Regions from separate parts of the Homo sapiens genome. Here all the other regions are linked to region 2. Evidence: promoter capture Hi-C in 16 types of primary human blood cells and fetal thymus (Javierre and others, 2016). All regions are on one chromosome and are shown on one strand. Each heading gives the region's core, a stretch centred on a gene start or on the middle of the fragment in contact. The rest is flanking DNA. Distances are from core to core; before and after follow the strand shown.

Region 1 (3,103 bases), core at 240-2,739, 160 kb before region 2:
TTAGCAAAGACAAAAACGCTAACATTGAAAAAGTATGTCAGATTTTCCTTCATGTTTCTGGTTATAAGAAGCATAGCTTACAAAGCAAGCGTAAGATTGAGGCATGAAGTTCAGAAAAAAAAGTGTTACAACACACAGGGAAGTTTTTTCCACTCTTTTCTCTGTGCATTTTGAAAATTAGTCAAAATGGACTCTTTTCAGTCTACCATAAGTTAATATAACTGATACCTTGAGAGATGGCTGGACCAATTCTCTCCATGACAAATGTTTAATCATTAGTTACAAGAATGCAGTATCTGGGGCGTCAACATGGGGACTCGAGTAAACCTGACCCACCAATAAGGATTCAGCTGTCCACACGGGCTGGCGACACACTTACCGCATCAATCTGTGTTCAGGTCCAGGGTTACATAATTGCAGAAGCACAAGCCATACATCGCAGGTAGGAAACCACAGAACCGTCTGCAAGGAGCAAGCAACGGTGGCCCTGTCCACCCCAGCAAATAAGAAGCATATCTGTAGCTTAAGGCCACGAATCCGTAAAAACCCCATGACTTTCTCTTCGTGCATAAACAGATGTATTTTTGATTTCAGGGAATTCTTTAGTATCGTCAATGGTGCCACATAAAACATGTCCCAAACCAAATCCCACCCGTGCTGGGCAGAGTGCGTGCACGCCATTCCTACAGCATTCCAAAGATGGAAGGTTCTTTACTTCATGTTAATTTTTCCTTTGAAATTATTTATATGTTCTATATATAAATACATATGTACATAGATATATGGGCCTCTGTGTGGCTGAACAGTATATTTTGTAAATATAAGTACTAGTCCTAATTGCAGAAAGAGCGTCAGTTTCACCTCCCCACGAGCACTTCAGATCAGTATTGTATTCATTTTATTCATAAATGGATATCTTTTTCATTGTCATATAAAGCTGGGTTTTATTTTTTTTTCCTGAAAAATAATTGCCTTTATTTTCTCTCGTTGCCTCCTTGGTTTCAGAAGAGAGTAGTTTTATTATAAATATTGTATGGACTTTGTATATTAAGAGAGGAGCTCATTTCAGATTCCTAAAGAAATAGACATTTTACTGTTATTTTGAAAGGGCATCTTTTGATTTTTTTGTTGTTGTTGTTCACTTTTGGCATATGTATATAAGTAATATTGACGGTGATATGAAAACTTTTGTTATGTGAAGATATTTAAGTCAGAAAATTGTTAAATAATATTACTTCTTTTCCAAACTGCTTTGTGTATTGTATATTTTTTTAAGAAAAAGAAAAGCCTTATTTGACTTATGCTTGTGATACTGGACTTCTTACCAATCCGGAGGTTTCCTTCCTTGAATGTCAGTGTGTAAACCTGGCTGTAGCCGCATATGCAGAATAACTGTAATTGTGCTAGAGTTTTAAAGGTTCTGCTTTTAATGCACTTTTTATTTTATAATTTTGTATTGAAATATTTTAGAAATGTTGATTAATTTTGGTGAAAAAATATCCCCAAAGTGGAAATTATTGGAATTTTAAACTTTTGTTCTTGCTGGGTTATTTATTTTGATTTTAGCATTAAATGTCATCTCAGGACATCTCTAAAAGGGGTTGTTTAATTCCTAATTGTATAGAAAGCTAGTTTGGTGAATTGTATTGGTTAATTGACTGTTTAAGGCCTTAACAGGTGAATCTAGAGCCTACTTTTATTTTGGTTAAAGAAAAAGAAAATATCAATAATTCAATTTTGTGTCTTTTCTCAATTTATTAGCAAACACAAGACATTTTATGTATTATTTCGATTTACTTCCTAATTATAAAAGCTGCTTTTTTGCAGAACATTCCTTGAAAATATAAGGTTTTGAAAAGACATAATTTTACTTGAATCTTTGTGGGGTACAGGTTGATCTTTATATTTTACTGGTTGTTTTAAAAATTCTAGAAAAGAGATTTCTAGGCCTCATGTATAACCAGGGTTTTGAGGATAAAGAACTGTATTTTTAGAACTATCTCATCATAGCATATCTGCTTTGGAATAACTATAAATAAAAGATGAAGTTAGGAAATGTGATTAATTTTTTTCGTTTGAAAATATTTAAGATAAAACAGTTTGGCATGTAAATTAATTTCAAGTTCAGATATTTTTAAGAGAAAACTTTAGTGGTATTTTCCTTTACCTCTGTGAAGTTCAGAGGCGTTTACCCCTGCAGTGTCCACTGGAAAGGCTTCAGACTTTCAAAATCAGGGCATGGCTCCGCGACAGCGAGCCGTGGGCGTCAGCACAGTGCCCTGTGCATGTGTCAGAACTGTTCCTGTTCCCTTTCATTTGCTGCTTTATTCAACGGCACCCAGTCATTGAGGAACCTTTTGAAAGTTCCTAAGTGTTTTGATCCTGCTTGTGTGCTCAAGTAACCATGAAGCACTGAAGCTGAAAGAATGAATTGCCTTTGCAAAGATACCAAACGTGAAGGTGGGGTGCAGGTACTGAGGAAGCAGGAGGCATGTAGCATGTGTGGAGTCCCACCTGCTAGATAATGCCCAAGCGGCTGCGTTTCCATAGAATGGCAATAGATGAAAATGAAGACATGTTTTCAAACATGCAGATTGAAATGCTACCCCACCCCCATCAAGCTCTACTTTTTCCCCTTTGAAAAACTTGAGGCACTTAGAAAGTATCTAAATAGAGGAAATGCTATGACATGGCATCTGACAGCTTGCAGCCAGGTCAGTGGGAGGCTCATCAAATGCCACTCTCCTCTTCCTGACAGTGTTCTGCTGGTGGGACATGAACATCAGTGCTTGTCTGGCACTTAACTAGGGGATGTTTCCTTCGTGCATATTTTCTACTCCCCTGTTGTAATATTTTAAGGAAACTTGATCTTTGAAATTATAGCTAGTGTTCTGTGTCTTCCTTTGAACTCATATCACATTTATTACAAGAGACGCATGTGTTAGCACAGCTACACAATTTTTAGAAGTAGAAGTGGATTTCTTGTCTTGCTGTGGGTTTTCCTCATTTTAGAAGAATATTTGTAACTCATTAAGATACACATTTTAACATGAAATGACCATCACACAGATTTATGTTTGGAAATATTCAAGATAAAATAGTT
Region 2 (3,074 bases), core at 227-2,726:
TCCTTAAACTGTCCCCCGGAGCTTCGCCAGATAAAATGTCCAAAACACACACTGGAGTTCCCTGACGTTTCCTTCCTCTGAAAAACTCTCTTTCCAGGCGGGGCGTTCTGTGGTCAGACGAGGCAGAGGCCTCCCCGGAACGAAGTCCACGCCCCCTCCCCACCCCAGCACCCAGCGAGCCCACGCGCCCCTCACCCACGCGCAGAGAAACCGAGCACTTGTTGATTCTCACGTTGTTGCAATTGGAAAACGGAACAAGGAACCAGAGCTCGCCTGTTTCCAGCCAGAGTCGCACGGGGGTCCCCAAAGACGCTTGAACCTTTTCCCAAGCCCCACTCCACCTTCCAAAACGGGGGGGCTCAGGTGGACGCGAAAGGACACAAGGCGCTGCCCCCAGCACCCCGGAAAATCTAGTGTGGCGGCAAATGACCGCAGGTCACACACCCCGGCCTCGGGGGCCACGGAAAACGGACGCACCCGGCCCAGGACAGGCAGTGGGGCCCAGGAGGGGACTGCCGGGAAGACCCGGGCGGGCCGGCGGGCGGCTGCGGGCGGCGCACGTGGGCCCAGGTGGGCGCAGCGACGGGCCCGGCCGAAGAGCCCGAGACAGGCCCTGCGAAGGCGGAAGCCCGGACCCGGGCTCTCCTGGCCGCCCCTGGAGCTCAGAGGGAGACTGCGCTTCGCCCCGGGGGCAGGGGCAGGAGCGCGATCGCGCGCGGGGCCCCCGGGGTGTGATTAGCAGGCGCCGCGAGCCGGGAGGACCCCCCAGCCCGCCCTGGCAGCCAGCACCCTCTCCACACCCGCCCAGAGTGGCCGCTTTTGACCGCCGTCCCCTCCCACCCTAGACTCCTCCCCTCAGCCCCACGGCCCGAGGCCGAGCGGTTTCAGCGACCCTGGGACCGCCGGGCCTGGCTGGAGTCCACCCCTGGACACCTGTCAGGGTCGGGCCCCGGCGCTGTAAACCCGCGTCTACACCCGCGCCCAGCCCCCGCGCAATGGGGATCGGGGGCGGCGACTTGGGTTCGGGTCAGGGAGGCCGCCGGCTGCTACCTGCTCGGCCACCTGCTCCGCTGCCTAGGTTCTCCCTGCGCGTCCCCAGCCAAGAAAGGGACCCGGAGTCCGGGCGTCGGGATAGCTCCTGTCCCCGATCTTGCGCCCCCGGCTCCCGCGGGGCTCCGGTCCGGGGTCCCGCCCAGGTCTCCGCGGTCCCCACTCGGAGGGGCACAGAGACAAAGGCGGCAGAGCAGCCCGCCCGTCCCCGAGGGTCACCCACCGGCGCTGCGCTCGTTGCTCCGAGGCCGAGGGGCGCCGCGGGGTCCAAGGCCCTGCTCCGCCTGCCCAGGCCCGGGCAGGCTGGTCTCGGCTTCAAGCGCCCACGCGCGGGGTCCCCGGGCAGCCTGCTTCGCCTTCCGGGGTCGGGAGACAGGGGCCGCCGGGGCCGGAGGCTGCTTCTCTCTGGCGCGCGGCGGCGGTGACTGACGGCGGCGGCTCCGAGGGACGGGCGCGCACCCAGCTCCCCGGCCCCGCCTCCCCGGGCTTCCTGCGAGCCAGGTAAACACAGGCCGATCCCGCCGGGCCCGCCCCACCTGGACGCGGCCGCCGGCGCCGCCCCGGGAGCTCGGAGGACCCCGGGCCCGCTCTGCCCACGCGGAACTTGGGGGGCGCACGGGGCCCACGCGCAGGGTCAGACCTCGGAGGGGCGGCCTGGAGCCTCGCCCGCTGCCGAACTGGGCTCCGAACTGCGGCCCGTCGACCCTTCCCGTTCGGAGGCTTGGCCTCCGAACCCACCCCGACCCCGACCTCGACCTCGCGGGAGGGGTGCCAGGCCGCATCTCCCCGCGTCCTCAGGGGCTGGAAACCCCAGAAACTGCCGATAGACTTGGCGCAGCCCCGGCCCTGCAGGAGGAGAGTCAGCCCGGCCTGGAGGCGAAAGGAGCCGGCAGGTCCTCCCAAGGCACTCCCTCCCTCCCCTGGAGCCCAGGCCAGGCCCATGTCCGGCTGGCAGGTGCTCCTCTGGGAGCTGGGAGCTGGGAGCTGGGAGCTAGGGGCGCACCTTCTCCTGCAGGACCGGCGCAGGAAGCGTGCGCGGAAAAGACAGCAAAACACGCGCAGGTGCGAGGAAGCAGCCTGGTCCTGCAGCCCAGAGACATCGTGGTCTTCGTCGCTGTCTTGTTAAAAAGAAAAAGCCTGCTGTTTAGCCGTGACTCACCTGCACACAGATTTAGTGGTCAGAGATCTTTCTCTGGATTCTCAGCCTCCTGATGGTGGAAGAGGAGGAGGTTGGGGGAGTCCCAGAATGAGGCCCCGCGTTCCTCCTGACCTACACCCCCAGTCAGGGATCTGGATCTGGAGCTTCCAGGGGACCTGGAGCAGCCTGGGACCCACACAGTTTGTTAGGAAGTGAGGGAGAGGGGTGAGCGCTGTCCCGGCCCGCGCTGGGAGGCGGGACTCAGACTTCAGCACGGGGTCGGGGTTTCGGCCTAAAACCAGCCTCCCCCAAAGCCCCGGAGGATTTAGCAACTGTCTTCAAATGCTGGCAACTGGAAGAGAAATACTTCCACAACGACGCAAAAGCATTCAGTCTGGTCGTTTCCTCAGGAGAGATTTTCAAGTGGAGGGGGCAGGAGGGTTCTGAGACTTTGAGGCTGAAGGTGAGGAGGGAAAAGGGTGCCAAAGATAGTGTGTTTCTCCAATTTTTCTGCCCCACAACCTCACTTTAAGTCAAGGATGAGCGGAGTGGGCGTGGGAGGCTGGACAGCTGCCCTAGGAGCACGGGTGGTGACAATGAACCCGGGTGCACCCAGGTCCCAGCTCAAGTCACTCAAAGCTCAGGCTGGGGAAGCTGGAACACTAAAATGGGTCCCATTTTAGATACCTGCTTTAGCATCAGAAACAGCTTTTCCTCCCCAAAATATCTCTTGGCTTTATCTCAGTGACTCCACAGGGCGGGGCCACCTTCCTGCCTGCAGATGTCCCTGTGTGCTGGGCTCTGGAGCGTCCCTCAGGCCACAGTGACAGCTGCACACGCGGCCTTCTGTTTGGTGCTCCTTCTGCTGGTGTTACAGTGGTTTCCT
Region 3 (2,906 bases), core at 259-2,758, 190 kb before region 2:
TTGGTGGCAGTGATGACCCTGGGATGCGCTGTGGCCCATTTCGGGGCCTGCTGTCCTCACCAGCTGGCAGCTCAGGCTCCCTGGCTTCACACCAGTGGGGTCACTTTCTCATTTAGGATGCTGCTTTTGGACAAAAGTCCTGTGGGTCCTCAGCGCCTCAGGACAAACTCCATCAGCTGCCCCTCTGGCTCCTGCCTGGCCCCTGCTACGCCACGTGGACTTGGGCTCTGCTGGCTGAGCTGCCAGTACCTCGTTTGCCACGCCCTCTCCCTCCCACCCACTGCACAGGTGGCTCCTGTGCCTGGCATCCAGGATGTGCCTGCAGCCACACACCCTGCCATTAGCGCTTCCCTGCTGCCCCCCTCAGCCCTTCCACTCTGGCCTGCGGACATGGGAGCAGGAGGCTTTGTGAGCAGCACGAGCCGGGTGGGTCTTCTGGAGCCTGTGTCTATCCAGATACATTAGTGTTTCTGTTAAGCTTTGGTGGGTTAAGTTCATTCTGTATATTCTTTTCTGTACTTTAAAAAAAATTATCAAATACAAAATTTTTAAACCAAATTGATTAATTAGCATGCATTGTCCAACAAGTAATTTAAAAATATCCAATAGAAATTGTGTAGCTTTATTTGAATCTTTTTTCTATTAGCTGGCAAACTTAGACTTGTGCTGATTTAATACTCTGAAAACTTGCAAAAACCAGATGAAAACTTTCTTAGCTTTTTGAATGGTATTTTTCTAAACATAATGAATCCTTGGTAGCAATAAAACCACCATTTTATTGTCAAGAGATTAATGAACCTACAAGAAAATGGCTGTAAATATGTAAATTAAATTTGACCTGAAAATTAGAAGGTGGTCAAGAGAAATTAACCGGTGTCTAATGATGATTGTTCAGTTAAGAGTTATTCACTAGGGGATAAATGTCGAATGATTTAATATTACTTCCTTAAAATGACATGTGCTCCTTGAATTTAATGAGGAAACGGACTAATAGCACGGGGAAGAGATCCAATGTGAAGAAATCAAGTTGTTCAGCATTATACCACCCTGAACACTGCACTCTGTGCATGGAAAAATAAGAATCTCCCTAAATGGACTGAAGGAAACAGTAATATAAACATAGAAATTACTGTACATATTTAAAAGATAGGAAAGTCATGTAAACTTATTATGTATTATTTTTTGTTTCTTTGTAAAATCCATGAAAGATGATGTTCCTAAAAACAGAGAAAGGTGGTCTTACTTTACTTAAATAGTATTCTATTTTATAATTTTTTTAATTTTTTATTTTTTTATTATTTTTTTTGAGACGGAGTCTCGCTCTGTCGCCCAGGCTGGAGTGCAGTGGCACGATCTCCGCTCAGTGCAAGCTCCGCTTCCCGGGTTCACAGCATTCTCCTGCCTCAGCCTCCTGAGTAGCTGGGACCACAGGCGCCCGCCACCATGCCCGGCTACCTTTTTTGTTATTTTTTAGTAGAGACGGGGTTTCACCATGTCAGCCAGGATGGTCTTGATCTCCTGACCTCGTGATCCGCCCGCCTTGGCCTCACAAAGTGCTGGGATTACAGGCATGAGCCACCACGCCCAGCCTAGTATTCTTAAATAATGGGCAAATTTGGCTGGGTGCAGTGGCTCACGCCTGTAAAACCTAGGACTTTGGGAGGCCGAGGCGGGCGGATCACGAGGTCAGGAGATCCAGACCATCCTGGCTGACACGGTGAAACCCCGTCTCTACTAAAAATACAAAAAATTAGCCAGGCGTGGTGGCGGGCACCTGTGGTCCCAGCTACTTGGGAGGCTGAGGCAGGAGAATGGCGTGAACCCGGGAAGTGGAGGTTGTAGTAAGCCGAGATCGTGCCACTGCACTCCAGCCTGGGCGACAGAGTGAGACTCCGTCTCAAAAAAAAAAAAAAAAAAAAGAAGAGCAAATTTGAGTTCATAATAGCAAAAAATTTGGAATATATATGTTTTTATAAGTCCATAATTCTAATTTAAAACTTGAAAAGGGCCCAATTTTGGAAGAATATTGTGGGAGTAAGTGATAATTTTAATTCAGAGAAAATTGGCTAATTTTGAAATGTAATTCTGATTTATTTGTTCCAAACTTTAGACTCTTCAGGGGTGAGGAGGAGCAGGCCGGTGGTAGTTGTGTGTCCTGCTTGCCCACTGAAGTCTGACAGTTTTATCAGGAGGTGTAAACGTGCATGCAGAAAATCTATTCAAGAAAGCAAAATGATTTTTAGTTCTTATTCTGAATACAAGAAGAAGCAATTTACTTATTCATGAAGGGAATTCTCTTTTATACTAATTCTTGTCATAAAAAAACAAACTTATTATTACAGATAATTGGTCAGGTGCAAAACATTTAAAACTTTGTATTTAGGTATATAAATGTGGCTTTTTAAGTCTAAATTTGACTGTGGAGTGACCCAGAAATTGGCAAATCTTATTACAGACTCCTGATGGGAAAAGAAGCCAATTCTGAAGTAACAAGTTAGTTGTAAGTTTAACACTGAGAGTCATCTGGCCCATGCTGTTTAAAGCTTTCTTAATTTTGTGCCTTTCTTAGCCTTGATCTTCTACAAGTCGTTCATATTTACTCTTGTACTTGTAAATATCTTGACATTTTTATTGAGGCACAATGTTTTGTTTTAAGTTTATTAAGAGTTGTGTATAGGCCGGTAAAATTATGAACTGCTAAGAAAAATATTTCTAATGAAATTGTACATGTGAGCAGTAAGTGAGGTTGATTTATGGGTACTTGACAATGGTATAGTGAAGTTTGTTATTGCATAGAATGCCTTTCATCAGTATCCAGCCCTTGCTCATATTTTACAGCATTTCCCAGATTCAGTCGAACATTGACATTCCTGGGTCTCAGCAGGCCCAAGTTAATTCAGTAGTCA
Region 4 (3,011 bases), core at 52-2,551, 140 kb before region 2:
CCTTTCCAATCCTTAGTCATGTTTATCTTTGGGGAACCTAGAATGTACCAGGAAACACACAACACAGCTTAGAAAGAGAAAGTGGGGGCTCTCTGGAACTCCAGACAAGGAGAGAGTCCTGCGGCTCTGGGAAACAGACAAGCAGACAAAATGCAGAGAAGGATTTTGCTTTGGAAAAAAGAGAAATTCAACAGACATTAGTAGGACCCAAAAGGGAGAGATGCAGGGAGGAATGCAAGGGTCTTTCTTGTTAGCTGCTGGGGCAGAACGGCCTGTGTGCAACCCCCCATCGCTCCACATTCAGGGAGGATCCGGCACGACGGCCCCAAAGTCCACTCCTAGAAAATTAAGAGCAGATAAAGCAGTAGCTAAAATAAGATTTCTGGGTCAAAAATGAATTTCATTCTTCTATCATCTTTGTCTCCTGCTGGCATAGAAAATAAAAAATTAATTGTGAGTACTAGTCCATGTACATTTGCTACATGATTGTCATCGTTTTGCAAATTCATTAGGTCAGAAAAAGCAAGTCAAATATGCATTAATGGAAAACGTTTCGGTAAATATCTTAGTTCATAATTCAGTGTAATCATGTGTGGGACTGATCTGGGATCCTCATGGTCTCTCAAGTACCCTGCCCCTTCCTCCCTCTCTTCCTTCCTCTTCCCCACCTTCTGTTTTCTTTCCCTGTTCTTTCTTCCTGTTCTTTCTCCTTGTTGTTTTTCTTTTAAAATGTATTCATTCATTTATATGATGCTTATTAATTGAGCAGAAAGTGTAGGTAGGCTCTGTTCTAGCGTATGAGAGCATTGCAGTTTCGGAGACAGACACAACCTATCTACAATACGTTGGTGGTTATTCCTCCATTTTATTCTAAAATTATAACTTTTATACAGTAAGAATCATATCTGGTATTTGCTAGTAACTAAAGTCTGTAAGTTTGGTTAGAATATAATGATTGGCATTTTAATTTGGCTCAGACACCAAATTTTTTCACTAGAAAGTTCAAATTGGCCATTTTAAACCTTCCTTGAAAGTTTGCTTTCAGTATTAACCAGCCTAAAATTCCTAAGGAAGATTTTCTGGATGGCTTGATATCTATGTTTTAATTATTATTTAAACACATACAAAACAAAAATCTTTGGATTAATGAGGTTATTATAAATCGAGCAACTCTATTTAGCCTCTTTTTCTGTTCATCAGCAGAATCATTTTCCCAGTGTCAGCATCTGGGGTCACTGAGACGGGCCAGCCAGTCCCACTTCCACATGCGGGTTCCTGGGGCTTCTCGCACTGGTTGTGTTGGAGGAAGTTAAACATTTTCTCGGACGTGGTGTTGCTCCCTCCCTGGGAGGGAGACCAGTCACGTCGCCTGGGAACCCTCTGGGAGAAGAGGATCTGGCCTTGCAGGGCTGGGTCCCCGGCACAGAAGCAAGAGACCAGACCTTCCGGAAGGGAAGACCACGTTTCATTTCCCCAGTGGAAGACAAGGCGGCCCGATCCCAGCTGTGGGCAGAGAGGTCTCGAGAGGAGAGAAAAGGAGGCCAGGAAGCAACCGAAACAGAGCAGAACACAAAAGTTGCGGGGCTGTGAGGACTGGGACGGAAGAGGAAGCCGATGGAAGTGCGTTCGTCACCTACCCAGCTAAATCTGCTCAGGGACAGTCCTCTCCCCTGCATGAGGAAGACAGAGAAATAATGACATGGTGGTCAGTGAAGGGAAAGTCCTTTCAATCAACAGGAAACACAGTCAAAGCACAGTGGAGCTGAGGTGGTAAAAACAGGTTCCACCCGGAGCTCCGAGGGGGGCCGCAGGCTCAGGGCCACAGCGGCTGTGCAGGTGCGGGAGGGACAGGAGGGGTGCATGGATCTGCCGACCTGTTCTACTTGGGAGCTGCCTGGCAACACGTTTTGGGATGGATTCTGGTAGCTCGGAGCCTAACTCTCTCTTTGGTACATTATGGGATTTTAGAGAAGGTCTATCAGAAAAGTGATGATCAATCAAAACATTCCAAGGTCTTACCTTTCCCTGCGACGGGGGTGGTGTGCGAGGCGTCACCTGGAAAGACACAGAGAACCGTGGGCTGCACTGGGAGCCCTGTGCCGCCGTCCATTTCCTAACGGGCTCCTGCCTGCTGAGGGTGGCTAGCATCCATCAGCTGCCAGAAGCACCCGGGTGCCCAGCCTCCCCACTTCTGTCCTAGTTGGTGAAGAAGTATAGACCTGAGATTGAAAATATTCTAGATGATGCAGATCTCCCAGAGCACTCAGGAAGTGTTTCAGAGGATGGAAAACACCTCCCAGAGGCTCCGTAGCTGGGGAATGGGCCCATCTTGGGACACTGAGGGAGGCGGCGGACTTTGCTTCACCGTGAGCCCTTTCCGGGGCTAGGAGTAGCGGGCCCTCTGACATTCAGAGCTTCCAAGGGGATGTCCCCAGGTCTGCAGCTCCTAAGTGCACTTATCGAATACGAGCATAAAATGTCTGCTGCACTGAGATCTTGGAATTAGAAGCCTGTGGTTTTGTTCTTGTTTTTAATCGTCTTCGTTTTGCATGGCACTTTTCGGTTTACAGAAAAACTGTGCAGAAATTAGTTTCCACATACCCCGAACAGTTTCCCTTATTAGCAACACTGCCTTAGGGCTCTCTCGGTGCTGTGCACGCTGTGGGTTTGGACAAGTGCGTGGTCTTCAGTCACCATGGCAGCCTCGACAGAGCGGTTTCGCTGCCCGAAAAATGCCCTAAAAATGCCCTGTGCTCTCTCTGCTGCCCCCTCCGCTCCCAGCCCATGGCAAGCACTCTCCATAGGTTGCAAAGCCTGTGTTTTTAGGCTAAGCGTTACATGGGAGCCTAATCTCAAGAGAAGTGAGCTCTCTGGAGAACGCACGGAGCGCACGGTGCAATCCGTGGCAGATACAGTCGGGAAGCGCTTGCCTGGAACTCGCGATCAGGTGCGAGGGGGGAGTTCCCCGGCCGGCCTCACCCTGATGATGACCCCGGTGCCACCCCCGAGCG

The links. The method cuts DNA at HindIII sites, captures the fragments that hold promoters and counts their contacts. A CHiCAGO score of 5 or more calls a contact.
Region 1: a fragment that was not itself captured here is called in contact with the fragment with the promoter of MBP in region 2 in 3 of 17 cell types (naive B cells, total B cells and activated CD4 T cells); the score reaches 7.2 in naive B cells.
Region 3: a contact is called between a fragment that was not itself captured here and the fragment with the promoter of MBP in region 2, in 1 of 17 cell types (total B cells). The highest score is 5.3, in total B cells.
Region 4: a contact is called between a fragment that was not itself captured here and the fragment with the promoter of MBP in region 2, in 6 of 17 cell types (monocytes, neutrophils, activated CD4 T cells and 3 more). The highest score is 8.5, in monocytes.

What each region holds. Positions count from the first base shown.
Region 1 is chr18:76,968,672-76,971,774 of GRCh38, forward strand. It overlaps ZNF236 (zinc finger protein 236), which reads left to right. Exons shown (of 31, transcript NM_001306089.2): 31 at 1-3,103. Among named protein-coding and RNA genes, the nearest start is that of MBP-AS1, 10 kb to the right of the region's middle. The HindIII fragment of the contact is 3,480 bases long and covers 1-3,103 here.
Region 2 is chr18:77,131,307-77,134,380 of GRCh38, forward strand. MBP (myelin basic protein) reads right to left here and starts at 1,477. Exons shown (of 9, transcript NM_001025101.2): 1 at 1,274-1,477. RefSeq lists a silencer at 442-1,741. The HindIII fragment of the contact is 15,459 bases long and covers 1-3,074 here.
Region 3 is chr18:76,941,224-76,944,129 of GRCh38, forward strand. All of the region lies in intron 26 of ZNF236 (zinc finger protein 236), which reads left to right. Among named protein-coding and RNA genes, the nearest start is that of MBP-AS1, 38 kb to the right of the region's middle. The HindIII fragment of the contact is 2,065 bases long and covers 477-2,541 here.
Region 4 is chr18:76,986,858-76,989,868 of GRCh38, forward strand. It overlaps MBP (myelin basic protein), which reads right to left. Exons shown (of 9, transcript NM_001025101.2): 6 at 2,020-2,055; 7 at 1,638-1,670. Among named protein-coding and RNA genes, the nearest start is that of MBP-AS1, 7.9 kb to the left of the region's middle. RefSeq lists enhancers at 1,405-2,604, 2,406-2,455. The HindIII fragment of the contact is 8,996 bases long and covers 1-3,011 here.